4 separate regions of the Homo sapiens genome follow, and regions 2, 3 and 4 are each linked to region 1. Evidence: promoter capture Hi-C in 16 types of primary human blood cells and fetal thymus (Javierre and others, 2016). All regions are on one chromosome and are shown on one strand. The core of a region is centred on a gene start or on the middle of the fragment in contact, and the rest is flanking DNA. Distances in the headings are between cores, read along the strand shown. Region 1 holds the start of CD2AP (CD2 associated protein). Region 2 overlaps CRISP2 (cysteine rich secretory protein 2). Region 3 overlaps C6orf141 (chromosome 6 open reading frame 141). Region 4 has its middle 3.8 kb from the start of RHAG.

What was found. The method cuts DNA at HindIII sites, captures the fragments that hold promoters and counts their contacts. A CHiCAGO score of 5 or more calls a contact.
Region 2: a fragment that was not itself captured here is called in contact with the fragment with the promoter of CD2AP in region 1 in 1 of 17 cell types (erythroblasts); the score reaches 11.4 in erythroblasts.
Region 3: a fragment that was not itself captured here is called in contact with the fragment with the promoter of CD2AP in region 1 in 1 of 17 cell types (endothelial precursors); the score reaches 7.2 in endothelial precursors.
Region 4: a fragment that was not itself captured here is called in contact with the fragment with the promoter of CD2AP in region 1 in 1 of 17 cell types (erythroblasts); the score reaches 9.4 in erythroblasts.

Annotation. Positions count from the first base shown.
Region 1 is chr6:47,476,314-47,479,474 of GRCh38, forward strand. CD2AP (CD2 associated protein) reads left to right here and starts at 1,476. Exons shown (of 18, transcript NM_012120.3): 1 at 1,476-1,935. The coding sequence starts at 1,932. CD2AP-DT (CD2AP divergent transcript) reads right to left here and starts at 1,759. Exons shown (of 1, transcript NR_187257.1): 1 at 930-1,759. RefSeq lists a silencer at 1,238-1,747 and an enhancer at 2,034-2,760. The HindIII fragment of the contact is 1,754 bases long and covers 707-2,460 here.
Region 2 is chr6:49,696,847-49,700,254 of GRCh38, forward strand. CRISP2 (cysteine rich secretory protein 2) reads right to left here. Exons shown (of 10, transcript NM_003296.4): 6 at 2,958-3,045; 7 at 1,516-1,661; 8 at 1,014-1,111. Among named protein-coding and RNA genes, the nearest start is that of CRISP2, 15 kb to the right of the region's middle. The HindIII fragment of the contact is 511 bases long and covers 1,461-1,971 here.
Region 3 is chr6:49,551,591-49,555,251 of GRCh38, forward strand. C6orf141 (chromosome 6 open reading frame 141) reads left to right here. Exons shown (of 1, transcript NM_001145652.2): 1 at 1-505. Among named protein-coding and RNA genes, the nearest start is that of C6orf141, 2.8 kb to the left of the region's middle. RefSeq lists an enhancer at 1-398. The HindIII fragment of the contact is 5,833 bases long and covers 1-3,661 here.
Region 4 is chr6:49,638,925-49,642,296 of GRCh38, forward strand. No RefSeq gene overlaps it. Among named protein-coding and RNA genes, the nearest start is that of RHAG, 3.8 kb to the left of the region's middle. The HindIII fragment of the contact is 2,286 bases long and covers 367-2,652 here.

The DNA of each region.
Region 1 (3,161 bases), core at 226-2,725:
GCTTGCTTTGCCCACAGTAATTTATTTTCCTTTAAATTCTCAAGCATTTGACCCTCACTACCTCATACTGTTAATTAACTTTGTGTTCGTATCTCACCCCCCTAGAAGAATGCAAAATCTCTGAGGATTAGCGCTGTACTTTAGCTTTTTATTTTTTTGCTTGGTAGGGGACAACGAACATAATGCTGAACACATATTTGTTACCTAAAAAAGGCACATGTTCCATGATGTCAATGTAATCTTGTTTAGGTGAGTATATTCAACTTTTTTCTTTTATCCTTTTTGGCTGCTGTTTGTGAGTTTGATCATTCTTGTTATAAAATTACCACATGTAACCTTTTGAGAAGCATTAGAAGAATTAAAAGATGGCAAAAGCAGGCCTATAGGAAATAGTGGTAATGGATACGTCCAAGGTTACTACTATGGGCCACTGTGCTCTGCATTGCAAGATTTGTTTGAACATACTCAAGAAATTGAAGTTCAGACAGGTTAATTTATCCAAGGTCCCACAAAAAGTAAATGGCTGTGCTGAGTTTCAAGGACCCATGTCTGCCTGGATCCAAAGGGCAAGTCAGTTTCAGTGCTGGATGACTGAGAATTACAAAATTTCTTGAAAAAGCACTAGGCACAATAGTTGGCGTTCAACAAACGCTCACACACACATCTGCCCTGGAATTGGGTCTACTTAAACAGAAGGGGGAAAAAAAGCTTGCTGAAATAATTATACTTCTTCGTAACTACCAAGCTCATGTTTGACTGACTATAGTAATCCTATGCCCTCCTTCACATTGACGCTAGAAAAAATGCCTGGCAGTATTTCAAATCATGATGCCTATTTTTCTCTCGATCAAGTAACAACTCAAATTATACTTTAAAAAGAAAAAAAGCAAATTATAAAGTTGCATTCAGCTGACAAGAGACTAAAGGAATCTGTGAAACAGAATTTATTTGATGCCTAGGTTTCTCCCTCACCCGACGAAGACCAAATGCTGCTGATCCGTAAGTAACTTCGCAAGGTAAACTGAGGGGCCTGGCAGCATCTGGGCCTCCCTTAAAGGTCGAAATCAAGTGCGCTCGCCCTCCTTCTGTCCGCCTTTTCCCTTTAAGGTCCTCGAGGCTGCTTCGCTGCAGAAAGTAACTCCGCGTCGCCGCCGCGGAAAGTGGGGCAACTTTGCCTATCAGCAGAAACCTTTTGATCCATCTGAGGCGACAAACCAGACCAAACGCCCGCCCAAGCTGTTCCGAGCCTCCGGGGGGAGAGCGAGCCCAAGCTCCTCTGCACCGCTTCCTCATCCGCTCGCTGCACCTGGACGCGGTCGGCGCGCGACCCCCGGCCGTGACGTCACCGCACCTGGCAGCAGCCGTGGGGACCGGGAGAGAGCCCGAACGCGACGGGGCGGGGTGGGGCGGGGAGAACGAGGGCGTTCTCGCGAGATTTGCCTCCTCCCGGTCCCAGCTCCCCGCACCTTCTCGGCCTCTGTCTGGGTCCCCACCTTAGTCTACGGTGTCGCCTTTTCTAACTGCGAGTGCTAAGGAAGAGGCGAGGGGCGGGCTCCGAGGCTAGGCGGGCGCTCGGGGTTGGAGCCGAGGGTCTGGGCAAACCGGTGGGTCCCTCCCCACTGCGGGAGCGGCCAGGGTGGGAAAACCGCGGTCGGGCGGGCGGGGTAGGGCCCTCCCGCCGCCGTGGCTCCTGGGGAGGCCAGGGGTGAGGAGCTGTCGCCGCCTTTGCCTCTGCCTCGAGGGCCGCGCTGAAGAGACTGGTAGGAGAGCGCCGCGGGCGGATGGAGGCGACTCTTCGCCCCGCCTGAGCTCAGGAGGGGCTAGCGCGGAGCGCGGGTCCCGCCTCCAGCCGCGGGAGCGGCCGCGCGAGCCACCACTGGAGGAGGAGGAGGAGGAGCGGACGTCGGCTTCTCCCCGCGGGAGCCCCCAGCATGGGTAAGAGACTCGGGCGCTTCCCGCCGCCCGTCCGGACCTTCCAGACCCGGGGAGGCTGTGCCCTTTCTCGGCCTTCTGGGGAGGCGACTGCGGTCAGCCCCTGAGCGGCAGCACCCCACCCTCTCCATTCTCCCCACCGCCCCTTCTTGCCCTGCCTTCCACCTTGCTCTTCTCACGGAGAAACTGGTGGGAGAGCTCGCGGGTGCTTTCCCTCGCTCTCCCTTCTCCGCCTCTTTTCCTGTTCACCAGAAAGGTGCGGGATGGGGGGCGGGGGCGCCTGGCCACCTCTGCTAACCCCTTGCCCAGCTAAAATCAGACCTGACCTTCCTTCCCTTCCTCATCCCCTTGCTTCCCTCCCCCTCCTCGTGGGATGGGGGAGGGCGATCGAAAAACTTGATAAAGTAGCACTTTCAACTTCTTTATTTTCTGCGAGGCTTTGAATACGTTTAAGGAGAGAGATAAATTTGTTCAAAAACTTTTTTTTTTTCCTGCTGAAACTCGCAAGGGGTGCCTCAAGGACAGGAAAGCTTGAGTATTTGTTTTACTCGGGTTCTACCTAGGCAAGTGTGTTGGCACCTAAGCATTCAGTGTGCTCCCGAGGACTGGGTTTGGACTTCAGTGTTGGATCCTTTGAGGAGCAGTTTCCTGTTTGGAGTTAGACTTCCTTGCCGGAGGAGAGAAAAATACAAGGCCTTATATGTTATTTACTATGTGCTTTATAGTTTTGTTTGAAGTTAGAGAAGGCAGAATGTGTGGCAGTCCGGGTTGAAAAGGAGTTTTGTTAAGTGGTGTAACAATTTCTTTTGATAACAAAGTTCGGTGTGGGCTAGGCATTAAACTAACTCCCTCAATCCTTTAAAAATTAAAAGCAACTTAAGAATAGCTTACAAAAAACAAAACACCCTGTGTCTCTATAAGGCAGAACGTGTTCTGTAAGAGTAAACCCAAGTTTGATTTTTGTAGAGCAAATCAGGAGGACCCTATCACTTTTTGCAGTTGAGAGTTGGTACTGCTTCATATCAACAAACGATCACCGAAATGAATAATTCATGTAATTAACAAATGATTTAGAAGCAGGACGAATACAGACTACTGCTGATGTGGCACCCTCTGTCCACACTTTGCTTTGTGGGGGATGTTTTGAGCATATTGTTTATAGACACTCGCCTAGCTATCCTCTGTTTTCTTAGACTTTTCTAATTTTATGTTCCCTTCTCCACCTCCCT
Region 2 (3,408 bases), core at 466-2,965, 2.2 Mb after region 1:
GATATAAAAGGATTTTAAAAGTTCTAGTTCCCTTGGCTTCCCTCATGATCTATTCCAACTGTCACTTCTGACACCTGGCTGCTGATGCTTCCCTCTGAGGGCCAGTAAGTGAGTTTGGATACATTCTCCCAGGGCCTTTCAATTCTCTCTACTTGAATCCTAATAGGTACTTTAAAGAAAATGACTTTGGAGGTTATACTTCTCAAACTGGAATCGTACATCATCTTCGCTATCTACAGTCTCGAAACAAATCCTGTAGCTGTGCCCCCCACCGCAGCCTCCAGTAGTAAAGAATTTCAAACACTAAATTTGATATTGTGAATATCTTCTTAAAATATCCATAGGATTTATTGTGGATAACTCTAAACATATTGTTTAATGAAGAAGCATGTTTACTGCTACAAATCAAACCTTACAAGATGGTTAAAGAGCTTTCTGTGAACAATTCTGAGAATCAGAGACTTAAGATGTTATCTTTTCTGTATTCTGAAATAAAGATGTCCTGAAAAGCCATTGAAATCCAAATGAATGAATAATTTGTAATGGTAATTGTGTGTGGTGGTGTGTGTGTGTGTGTGTTTTACATAAGCAGAAGTAGGAATATTTGAGCAGAAAGGGCCAAAATCACAATCCATCTTCCATTTGCAATCTCACCAGCACCCTAAAGCATCTATACTCCTAGAGTATGAAATTAGCAAGATGTGATGATACCAATTCTAGAGAAATACATATTACACATGCTCACAGAGTAACCCTAAGCTGAGGGAAGGCCAATTGAAAGAAAAGACATTATTCTGTTAATGAGGAATGAGAGCTTCAGTTTTTATACCTGAAAGTGAGAAGTTGTTCTCCTCTGAGAAGTTGAAAGTGTCTCAACCTTAAAAAACATTTCCAAACGTTTATCCCCTCCCTTTTATTGAGATATGTTTTCATTCTGGTTTAAGATATGAGAATTATTAAAAAATAAATTGCAGATAGAATTATTGCCATTAAACTCTAAACAGTCTACTTACGCAGGACAATATTGGCAAACATAGTAGTATTTTAGACTATCTTGATTGGGACAGTAGGCAATTCCACAGCCTACCTGGTAAGTCGAGTACCAAACAAGCTGCAAATTAACAATGGAATAAATATATAAAAGTACATTAGAGAAGATGAAAAATATTTAAAAAAGTAGCAAATATAAAACTGAAAAATGTTAGTTTTATAGACATATACCATAAAAATATTTAAATTATTGAACCAAAGTCATAAACTTTAAAAATATTTAATTTTCATGTACATTCATCACTTTAAAATTTATAATGTAGGAACAATACAGAGTCTGCTTTCCTACTAAGAGTTTGGCTGACCATGGACAAAAATGACAGCTCTACAACAGCCAAATGCCAAGACTGTATTCTACCCACTCGGACTGTTCTCCTAAATTGAACATTACAGTGGTCATAATTTGGAGAAGCTTTCCTCTATTAGAACATCTGTGACATAGGTATTTTCATGCATTCTTCTTACCTGAGTATAATGTCCAACAACTGCATTGGGACTCTTTGGTCCTACACCATAGACAAAATCTAGGATCTCGTCATACCAGCTTTGGATTGCAGAAGACCAGGAAGTAGGGTCACTTGACATATAGAGATTCTCACCACATCTTGTACCTAAGGGGCAGATCATTCATGAGCAAGGTAATAAACATGCAATGGTAAAAGAAATTGACTACACAAACACAAAGATGTTGCCTTTCAAACCCAGGGTCCAGCAGATGCTAACTGTTGATTAATACATAAAGGAGTGCCTCAGTTCCTTATCAGCTATAAAGCTGATTAGAACACTTAACTGCCTGACACACTGAGGTTGGCCTGACCACATAAAACTTTGAGTAGGTTAACACTCTGCTCCTTAAAAATGCCCTTGCATGCTAAATTTTCCACATGTGTATGCCTTGAGTGTTCCCAGCTGTATATGGTAAGCTTGCTAAAGGCAGTGACCAACTCTTATATTCTGTTTTCTGCTCTAGTAACCCTCAACAGAGATTTTTCAAATATAGGACCCCAAATAAATGTATAAGACTTTGTGTGAAATCTGAAAAAAAGACTTTATAGGCTGTCTTTAAGAGTCCCAATCAAGAGAAAACTGACACCAGGAAGGATAACAGTTTTCAAAATTTATGGGTTTTCTCTTAACCAGGAAATCAGATATCACAAGCTGAAATCCTTGTGAGTTTGTCAAGAAGTGCCTTACAGCCCAGAAACACTTCATAAATTATTTGGGCATTTACTAGTTTTTATAATCCTTGATATGTCTTTTTAAAACTCGAATATAGTATTCTGTGCATTGTAGGTATCCAGTCCACACAAAATACTTGCTAGTCTGATATTAAAAATTAATATATTAATATATTCAAAAATATTCATTTTTATAGAAATTTTGAATACGATAAATTTAAATCCACTTTATCCACTTTTATCCACTTTAGAGCAAAACTTAGGAATAATTCATCATAAGTTCAATATATTTTATGGATACAAAAAATAGATTTCAAAACATCAGACAGCTACATAAATTAACAAAAAGGGCAGTGGGTTAGAAATCAGAAAGCTTGGTTAAAAATTTCTAGTATGACACTGTTTCAGATTATGTTCTTGGGTAAGTCACTTTTCTTTCAAATTCTGGCTTTCTAATCTTTAAACTTACAAAAAGAAAGATGATATAAAATCTGCTGTACTCATGAGCTGGTTGCAAGAAGCAAAATTATTTGCATAATGTACACAATAAAAAAACACAAAATTGTTCTTATTGTAAATACCCCTCTGTATACAGATACTTTGACTTCAAAAAGACAGCAGTATAAGTAACATTTATTTTCAAAGTCTTCTTATTATAGAGCATCCTACAATGCTCTATTATTATTTTATTCATTTATTTATTCAACAAATATTTACTAATTTACATACTGGTTTTGCGGTCCTCTGGATCACTATGTTGTAAAGTGCACTTGTTTGCCCACCTTTGGGCATTCGTTGTTACCTCTCTGCTCCATTCCTAAACGTCACAAGAAAACAAAATACACTTAATGATTCAGCCACAATGAAACATACACTTTATAATCTGATTTGTAAATACTTTAAAATTTCTGTAGATGTATTCTCTAATACTACTGTTATTAAAATGTTTTTAAGTGTTTTTATCTCTTCTGGTGCCAGTTTACACATGATGGGTAGTCCATAGGTAATATATCTAAAAAGCAAAATAAGACAATAATATGTGATTATTTATGATAGCAAAGCAGCCATACCTAGGATATTTATTAATGATGCTAGTCTAAATATTGATAAGCATGTGAAATATTCTAATTATATTTTAATAGTAATAAGATGGCCAACGTTATTTCCAATTCCATTTGTT
Region 3 (3,661 bases), core at 654-3,153, 2.1 Mb after region 1:
TCTGGGAGCTCCAACCTGCAATTAACCTACAGAAGGAACCTTTTGAGAGGCTGGTGCAGCGCTTCGGGGAGGCAGATTAAGAACTGTAAGCAGCATAATACCTCCTTTGTGGCTTGAATTCCTTCGCTGTCTGGGGACCTAAGTCATTCAGAAGAGGTGGAGAAAAGATATTTTCAGATTGGCAGAATGTGGGAGTTTTGAAATGAGAAAACCTGTTGTTAATTTGCATTTTGGAATAACTCTCAATTGATCTCTTTTCTGTTCCCCGCCCCCCTCTTGTTTCTCTTTAGGACCTAGAAACAGAAGTGAAGTTTGAAGTCTGCTCTCTGCAAAGAGGGTGGGAGTGGGTGGAGAAGAGGCTTGTTTTAAAAGCCAAAAACAGAAAGTAAAAAGAAATGGGAAAGTAAAACCAAAGCAGCAAGTGACTCTCTTCTGATGTGCACTTTTCATTTTTCTCCCCCACATTTCAGTGTTAGAAAGAAAACGAGAGGAGCTAGGGAAAGAAGGAGTTGGGGACAGAAGACTAAGATTTCAACGTGAAATTCCATTTACAAAGGCTTTACTGCAAACAATAGCTAATTTAGTCCTGTAAACATGCATTTATCATACATTTTAATTTTAATATTAAAAATACTGCATGTAAATGTTCTGAACTAAAGGTAGATAGCAATATGTAGTTTGCCATAAAATGAATGCATGTCTTATTCTTTTCCATAGTTCTTCATTAATGAGACTTGTAGTCAAGAATAGATTGAAGATACCATTCTCCTTGTGTAGTTCAAAAAAATCTCCTCTGGTAATACTGAAACAACTAATTTTTCTTATTTTGTTTGTTCCTCTTTATTATTAAATACTATGTGAATTAACTCTTTAGTAGTTGGCCTGGTTGAAGCTCTGTGAGGAGCAAAGCAGCCCTCTCCAGGTGAACTGCTTGACTTTACCACCTGAAGGAGTATTTACTGCAAGAATTAACAAAGCAGGTAGGACTCTGGCTTTTGATGAGCAAATAGTTGAAAAGTGCCTCCTTCCCCAGTCTTCCCTTTTGCCTTCATTTTTAGTTTAGAGCTTGAAGTGTTCTCAAAAGATCATCTGATCTACCTCTTGCCTCCTGGCAGGCCAGATAGATAAGATGCCCCTGTTTTACTCATGAGCCAACCTAGGCCTAGAGGTCTTGTAGCATGTCTAAGTCACACAGCTAGTAATTGCATATGCTTACTAAGTGGATGAAGAATGTGATAATCTCCCTCCTAAAGGTTTGGGGCAGCCTTTAGAGGATTTATTTGACCCTTACTTAGGGGTCAAAAGATGCCTGAGGATATCCTAGGTTTTCTTTCTTTTTCTATTTTTTTCTTTTTTTTGAGACAGAGTTTCTCTCTTGTTGCCCAGACTGCAGTGCAACGGCACGATCTTGGCTCACCACAACCTCTACCTCCAGGGTTCAAGCGATGCTCCTACCTCAGCCTCCTCAGTAGCTGGGATTACAGGCATGTGCCATCACCCCGGCTAATTCTGTATTTTTAGTAGAGATGGGGTTTCTCCATGTTGGCCAGGCTGGTCTTGAACTCCCAACCTCAGGTGATCCTCCTGCCTCCGCCTCCCAAAGTGCTGGGATTACAGGTATGAGCCACCATGCCTGGCCAATATCTTAGGTTTTCTAACTCATGTTTATGAGAAGTACTAGAATCACCTTAATGTTCCTGAATTCTGCAAGGCCTCTTGGCTGGAGAATCATCACTAGCAGTTCTTAGGCCTGTGAGACCCTCACTTGGGAGAGGAATTCAGCATCTGAGCTCATCTGTGTTCAAAATTGCTTGACAGGTAGAAAAGATTCATCCCTTAAAATGAATCTCTTTTCCTTAACAACCCTCCCTGACTCCAGTGGGAGATTAACTTACTTGGCATGTAAGTTTCAGACCTGAGCTTATTAATTTGGTTGAATCATCACATGTCCCAGGTGACTAATCATTGAATATAGAGAACAAAAAAAGTCTCTTTCACAATAACCAAAAATGGTAAGTAGCATCACTCAGCTGCCTTCTCTGGAGGCAATTTCTGGCGTTCAGCTGCTTGGGTTCAAAACTGGCTCTACCTCTTTATTAACTTGTGTCCTTGGGCAAGTTGCCTTATCTCTGTGTGCCTCTGTATCCTGATTTGTTAAGTGGGGACAATAAATAGTATCAACTTCATAGAGGGTTTTTTTTTTTTAGGGTTAAGTTAAATGAAAATACTTAGAACCCTGCCTGTCATACAATAAATCCTCAAAGTTAGTTACATTTTTTATTATTAGCACGGTTATTGTTTAGTTCACTTTTCATCCTAACTAGGCTTTAGTCTTTTGTTTAGTAACAAAAAGCAGAAATTGTATAACACAAGAAAGCTAATGAAAGTCAAGCCGGTGGTTTTTAATAAGACTCTTCTCTACTCCTGAAAGAAAGGACTTATTTCTAGCTTTTCCTAACCTTTAATGGATCAGTAAGTATATTTCTTAAATTCTTTAGAAATGACCTTCACATCTTCTGTAGGGACTCATGGTAAAGCTCAAAGGACTAAGGTACACTATCCTTAACAGTCACTGAAAAGAGTTTACATACCTCCTAGTTCTGGGCAGATGGGAGCTTTGAATACTTTCTTTGACCTGTCAGGTTAGTTTGTTTTCCCTCTGGGATTTTAAATCTGATGCCCTGTTGTCTAGAAAAGCAGAATAGACACAATTTGTTTTCATTTTGTCTTTCAGCCAAAAACGTATTTAGTCAAGTTAGCTTAACTCCTTTAAACCAAATATGTTTGAGTTAATTTTGTTTTGTTTTTGAGACAGAGTCTTGCTCTGTCGCCCAGGCTGGAGTGCAGTGGCACGATCTCTGCTCACTCCAAGCTCCGCCTCCCATGTTCACACCATTCTCCTGCCTCAGCCTCCTGAGTAGCTGGGACTACATGCGCCCGCCACCATGCCTGGCTAGTTTTTTTGTATTTTTAGTAGAGACGGGGTTTCACCGTGTTAGCCAGGATGATCTCGATCTCCTTGACCTTGTGATGCGCCCGCCTCGGCCTCCCAAAGTGGTGGGATTACAGGCCTGAGCCACCATGCCCGGCCTGTTTGAGTTAATTTTAAGTGATTTTTTTTTTCCTTTTCTCACTGTTTCAAGCAATGAAAATTTATTTTTAAAGTGCTTACTCAACTTCCCTATTAACTGCCTAGAACATGTTTATAGATTTCATTTAATATAGAGTTCCTTTTCATTGGAAACAAAAAGTAGTAAGTCCAAATACTGTTGAATTTGCTTCACAGGTGTTCCTGATCCAAGCAGAACCCTGTTATTTGAAGAGCCTGAGAAATCTTATCCCGTTTACAAATGTCCTGGGAGTGCATCCAAAGTGAAACTTGGGCATCCTCAATACTAAGAAATCTCTGAGAATGACTGGATCTTGGCTCTTTGATCTTACCTCTACTCCTCTGAAAAACATGATTATCTAAAATTGTGTTAGGTGGATGAACCGCATCAAAGACTTCCAGAAGCCACTCCAGTGACCATAAGATAAATGTCAGAATCGCATAACCCCCAGGATCAGGCAAGTGTTATCCTCTCTTAAAACTCTTTGTTTACAACCATGATCTCCTTTTGGGAATCATTACATTTGACTTACTGCTTATTTTTGTTGGATG
Region 4 (3,372 bases), core at 260-2,759, 2.2 Mb after region 1:
GAATGGCCGTTTCCCTTACTGGCCTGTTAGCTCCAGGACAGGGGCTGTGTCTCTTTTGCACCTCATTTGTTATCTAGAATGAATAATACCATGTCTAGCACAATATATAATTGATAAACATCATTTGAGTGAATTGAATTAAGGGCAGACTTGAAGGGAGAAACACTCAGCAGGCAGGTCAGCGGTGTGAGGAAGGGAGAGAGGAACAGCTTTACTCTAATAAATTTCATTTTAAATTATAAATATTTAGAATCCTGACAGTAGCTTTCATACTGCTGTCTACTCTCTCATTATTTCAATCAGTGAGGGCTTATCATCAGGTTCTCTGCGCCTAGAACAAAAGGGAGGATCAAGCTCAAGCCATGAAGCTTGGGAGGGCCAAATTCCTGGCAGACCAACATATGGTAGTGTGAACCTGAAGATTTCAACAGCTTTTTAGAAATCTCTTTCCTGACAGTTCTGAATCACAAAGACAATAGGCTGAGGGTGTGGGTGTCCTAAAGTGGAAATGATTTATCTGTTGCCTTGTCTGCCTATGAAACTACAGGATGGCTTTCTTCTAGTGCCTTCAGTAAAAGAGGTAAAATCGGAAAGAATCATGAATGGGTAAGCCACGTTCTTGTGCAAACCAAACCAAACAAAATAAAACACACACCAAGCAAATGAACCTTCAACTTCCCAGCTAAATACACAGATACAAACGAAGTATTCCTGGGTTAATGCAGGAGCCAGTGGGCTACAAGGGATCTTTGATCCTCAACTTGCTGTGTGACTTTAGGAAAGAAACAGTTTCTTTGCCTTATTTTCTGAATATATGTAAAACGTAGCTAATTGTTATTATTTGGAATTTTAATTTGAGTTTGCTTATTTTTAATAGCAAAGAATAATTGAAACAGGACCACCACTGTTTTAAACTGTCTCTTTCTCTCTACCTTTGTGTATTTGTAATGGTGGTGGGAGGGTGGGAGGTATTTAGGAAGATGAAGGTACTAAAATACCTTAAGCATTTTCTGTTCTGGACACTGTGTTAGGTGGCTATTTACCCACCTTGTTTAGTCCCACTGCAATTTTATACACACACACATATATTATTATTATTTTTTTGAGACGGAGTCTTGCTCTGTTGCCCAGGCTGGAGTGCAATGGCGCGATCTTGGCTCACTGCAACCTCCACCTCCCAGGTTCAAGTGATTATCCTGCCTCAGCCACCTGAGTAGCTGGGATTACAGGCGTGCACCACCACATCCAGCTAATATTTGTATTTTCAGTAGAGGCGGGGTTTCACCATGTTGGGCAGGCTGGTCTCAAACTCCTGATCTCAGGTAATCCACCCACCTTGGCCTCCCAAAGTGCTGGGATTACAGGTGTGAGCCACTGTGCCTGGCCTGCAATTTGATATATTTTTATACTTTGCAAACATAACTTGTTCCGTTGGTTTATATGTGTAGCTACTTAAGCACCCAACTGCCATACTGGTATGAGGTCCAGTGACTCTCTTTTTGTGCTTCTTTAATGTTTTCCTTCCAAAAAGAGACCATGGGTTTTATTTAGTCTAATAGGATGGCCAGTCCAACTTCTCTTCCCAAGTGAGGAGCAGACACAAACATTTCTTGCTGCCATAGGGGATCTGGTGAAAGAAAAGGTCTTTCTTCCCATAAAGGTTCTTTGCAACTTCTCGGATCTATGGTGGATGGCCCTGTGCCCTCCCCTAGGGCTTTCTTTTCAGCTACCTGGTGGCACTCAGCATTATTTCACAGAACACTGGAATTGAGCAGGGTTACGGGACCAGAGAAATCAGCACTAGCATTTCCAAAGCAGCTGCCCAAGGCTTTGGAACTTACCTTAAGCTAGGGACCCTTAACATTTTTGTGCTATGGACACTTTTGGCACAAGCCTCTGAATCCCATATCAAAATAGATTTTAAATGCACAAAATAAAATACATTGGATTACCAAGGAAACCAGTTCTATTGAAATACACCGATCAAAATACTGTAATATAAAAGAAGCACCTATACCCAACTGTCTGATATAGGTGCTTCTCTATAATGGATGAAATAAATCTTGTGGCATGTCTAATAATGAGCATAATTTCCAAGTTGAAGTAATGAGTGTAAATAATATTTTGAGATATCTGAAAAAAGTAAAAGAGAGAAAATTATTTGTGATTTATATTAGTGGCAGTTATCAATACTATTAATGATGCTGTTGTTTATTTTCTACATTCACAATAGAAAAAATGTTACATTTCAGTTAAATGCACTGTTGTTTCCCTATTTAAATATATGGACCATCTGAATTATATTTATAGAACTCCAGGTTAAAAATGCCTGTTTTAACTATGGCCAACAGCTTTATTTCTCTTTTTATTCAGTCTCAGGAGGCTTCCTATCATTTCTTGCCCCTGGTAATTCTCACGGACATATTAGTTTATGTCTATGAATTGTGTTAACTCTGAATTCCAGGGAGATGTTGAAGAATATCAGTTAAAATCTTCCCAGGAGGCCCCTGTATTCTTTAGACAAGTTGATTTTTCACTTTTCATGTGATTAACTTTGCAGAAGAAGAGCTAGAGCGCCTCTGAAGTAATCTTTAGCAAAGACAACAAAACTAACTCGTCCAAGTTAAAAGAGAACTCTATAGAGAGATGATAAGCTTGAGGCTCAGAGAGTTTCAGCAACTCGTTCAAAGTTGCACATCGGGTAGATGGCAGAGCCATAATGAATACAGGTTTGCCCAATTTCCTAAATTTAACTTCTTTCAGCTATACCATATTGTTTTTCTTTTTATAACCATTTATTATTTATTTATTTATATGGCTACATAATTGCTTGTAGCAAGATATCTCATATACCCCATACTGTTTTTCTATGTGAGATAACTTATGCTCACACTGATCTCAAGGTACTGACAATATCAAAGAAACTTCTGAAACATAAAAAGGGAATTAAAACTTTTAGAACTGGCCGGGCGTGGTGGCTCACTCCTGTAATCCCAGCACTTTGGGAGGCCGAGGCGCGTGGATCACGAGGTCAGGAGATTGAGACCATCTTGGCTAACACGGTGAAACCCTGTCTCTACTAAAAATACAAAAAATTAGCCGGGCGCGGTGGCGGGCGCCTGTAATCCCAGCTACTCGGGAGGCTGAGGCAGGAATGACGTGAACCCGGGAGGCAGAGCTTGCAGTGAGCTGAGATAGCGCCACTGCAGTCCGGCCTGGGAGAAAGAGTGAGACTCCGTCTCTAAAAAAAAAAAAAAAGAAAAATTAAAACTATTTTCTGTTTACAGTTTTTTATTTTACTTTAACTTGGAAAGTACTATCAAATGATGATATCAACTTTTCTACTTGGATCACTCTTTTTCTCAACTAGGA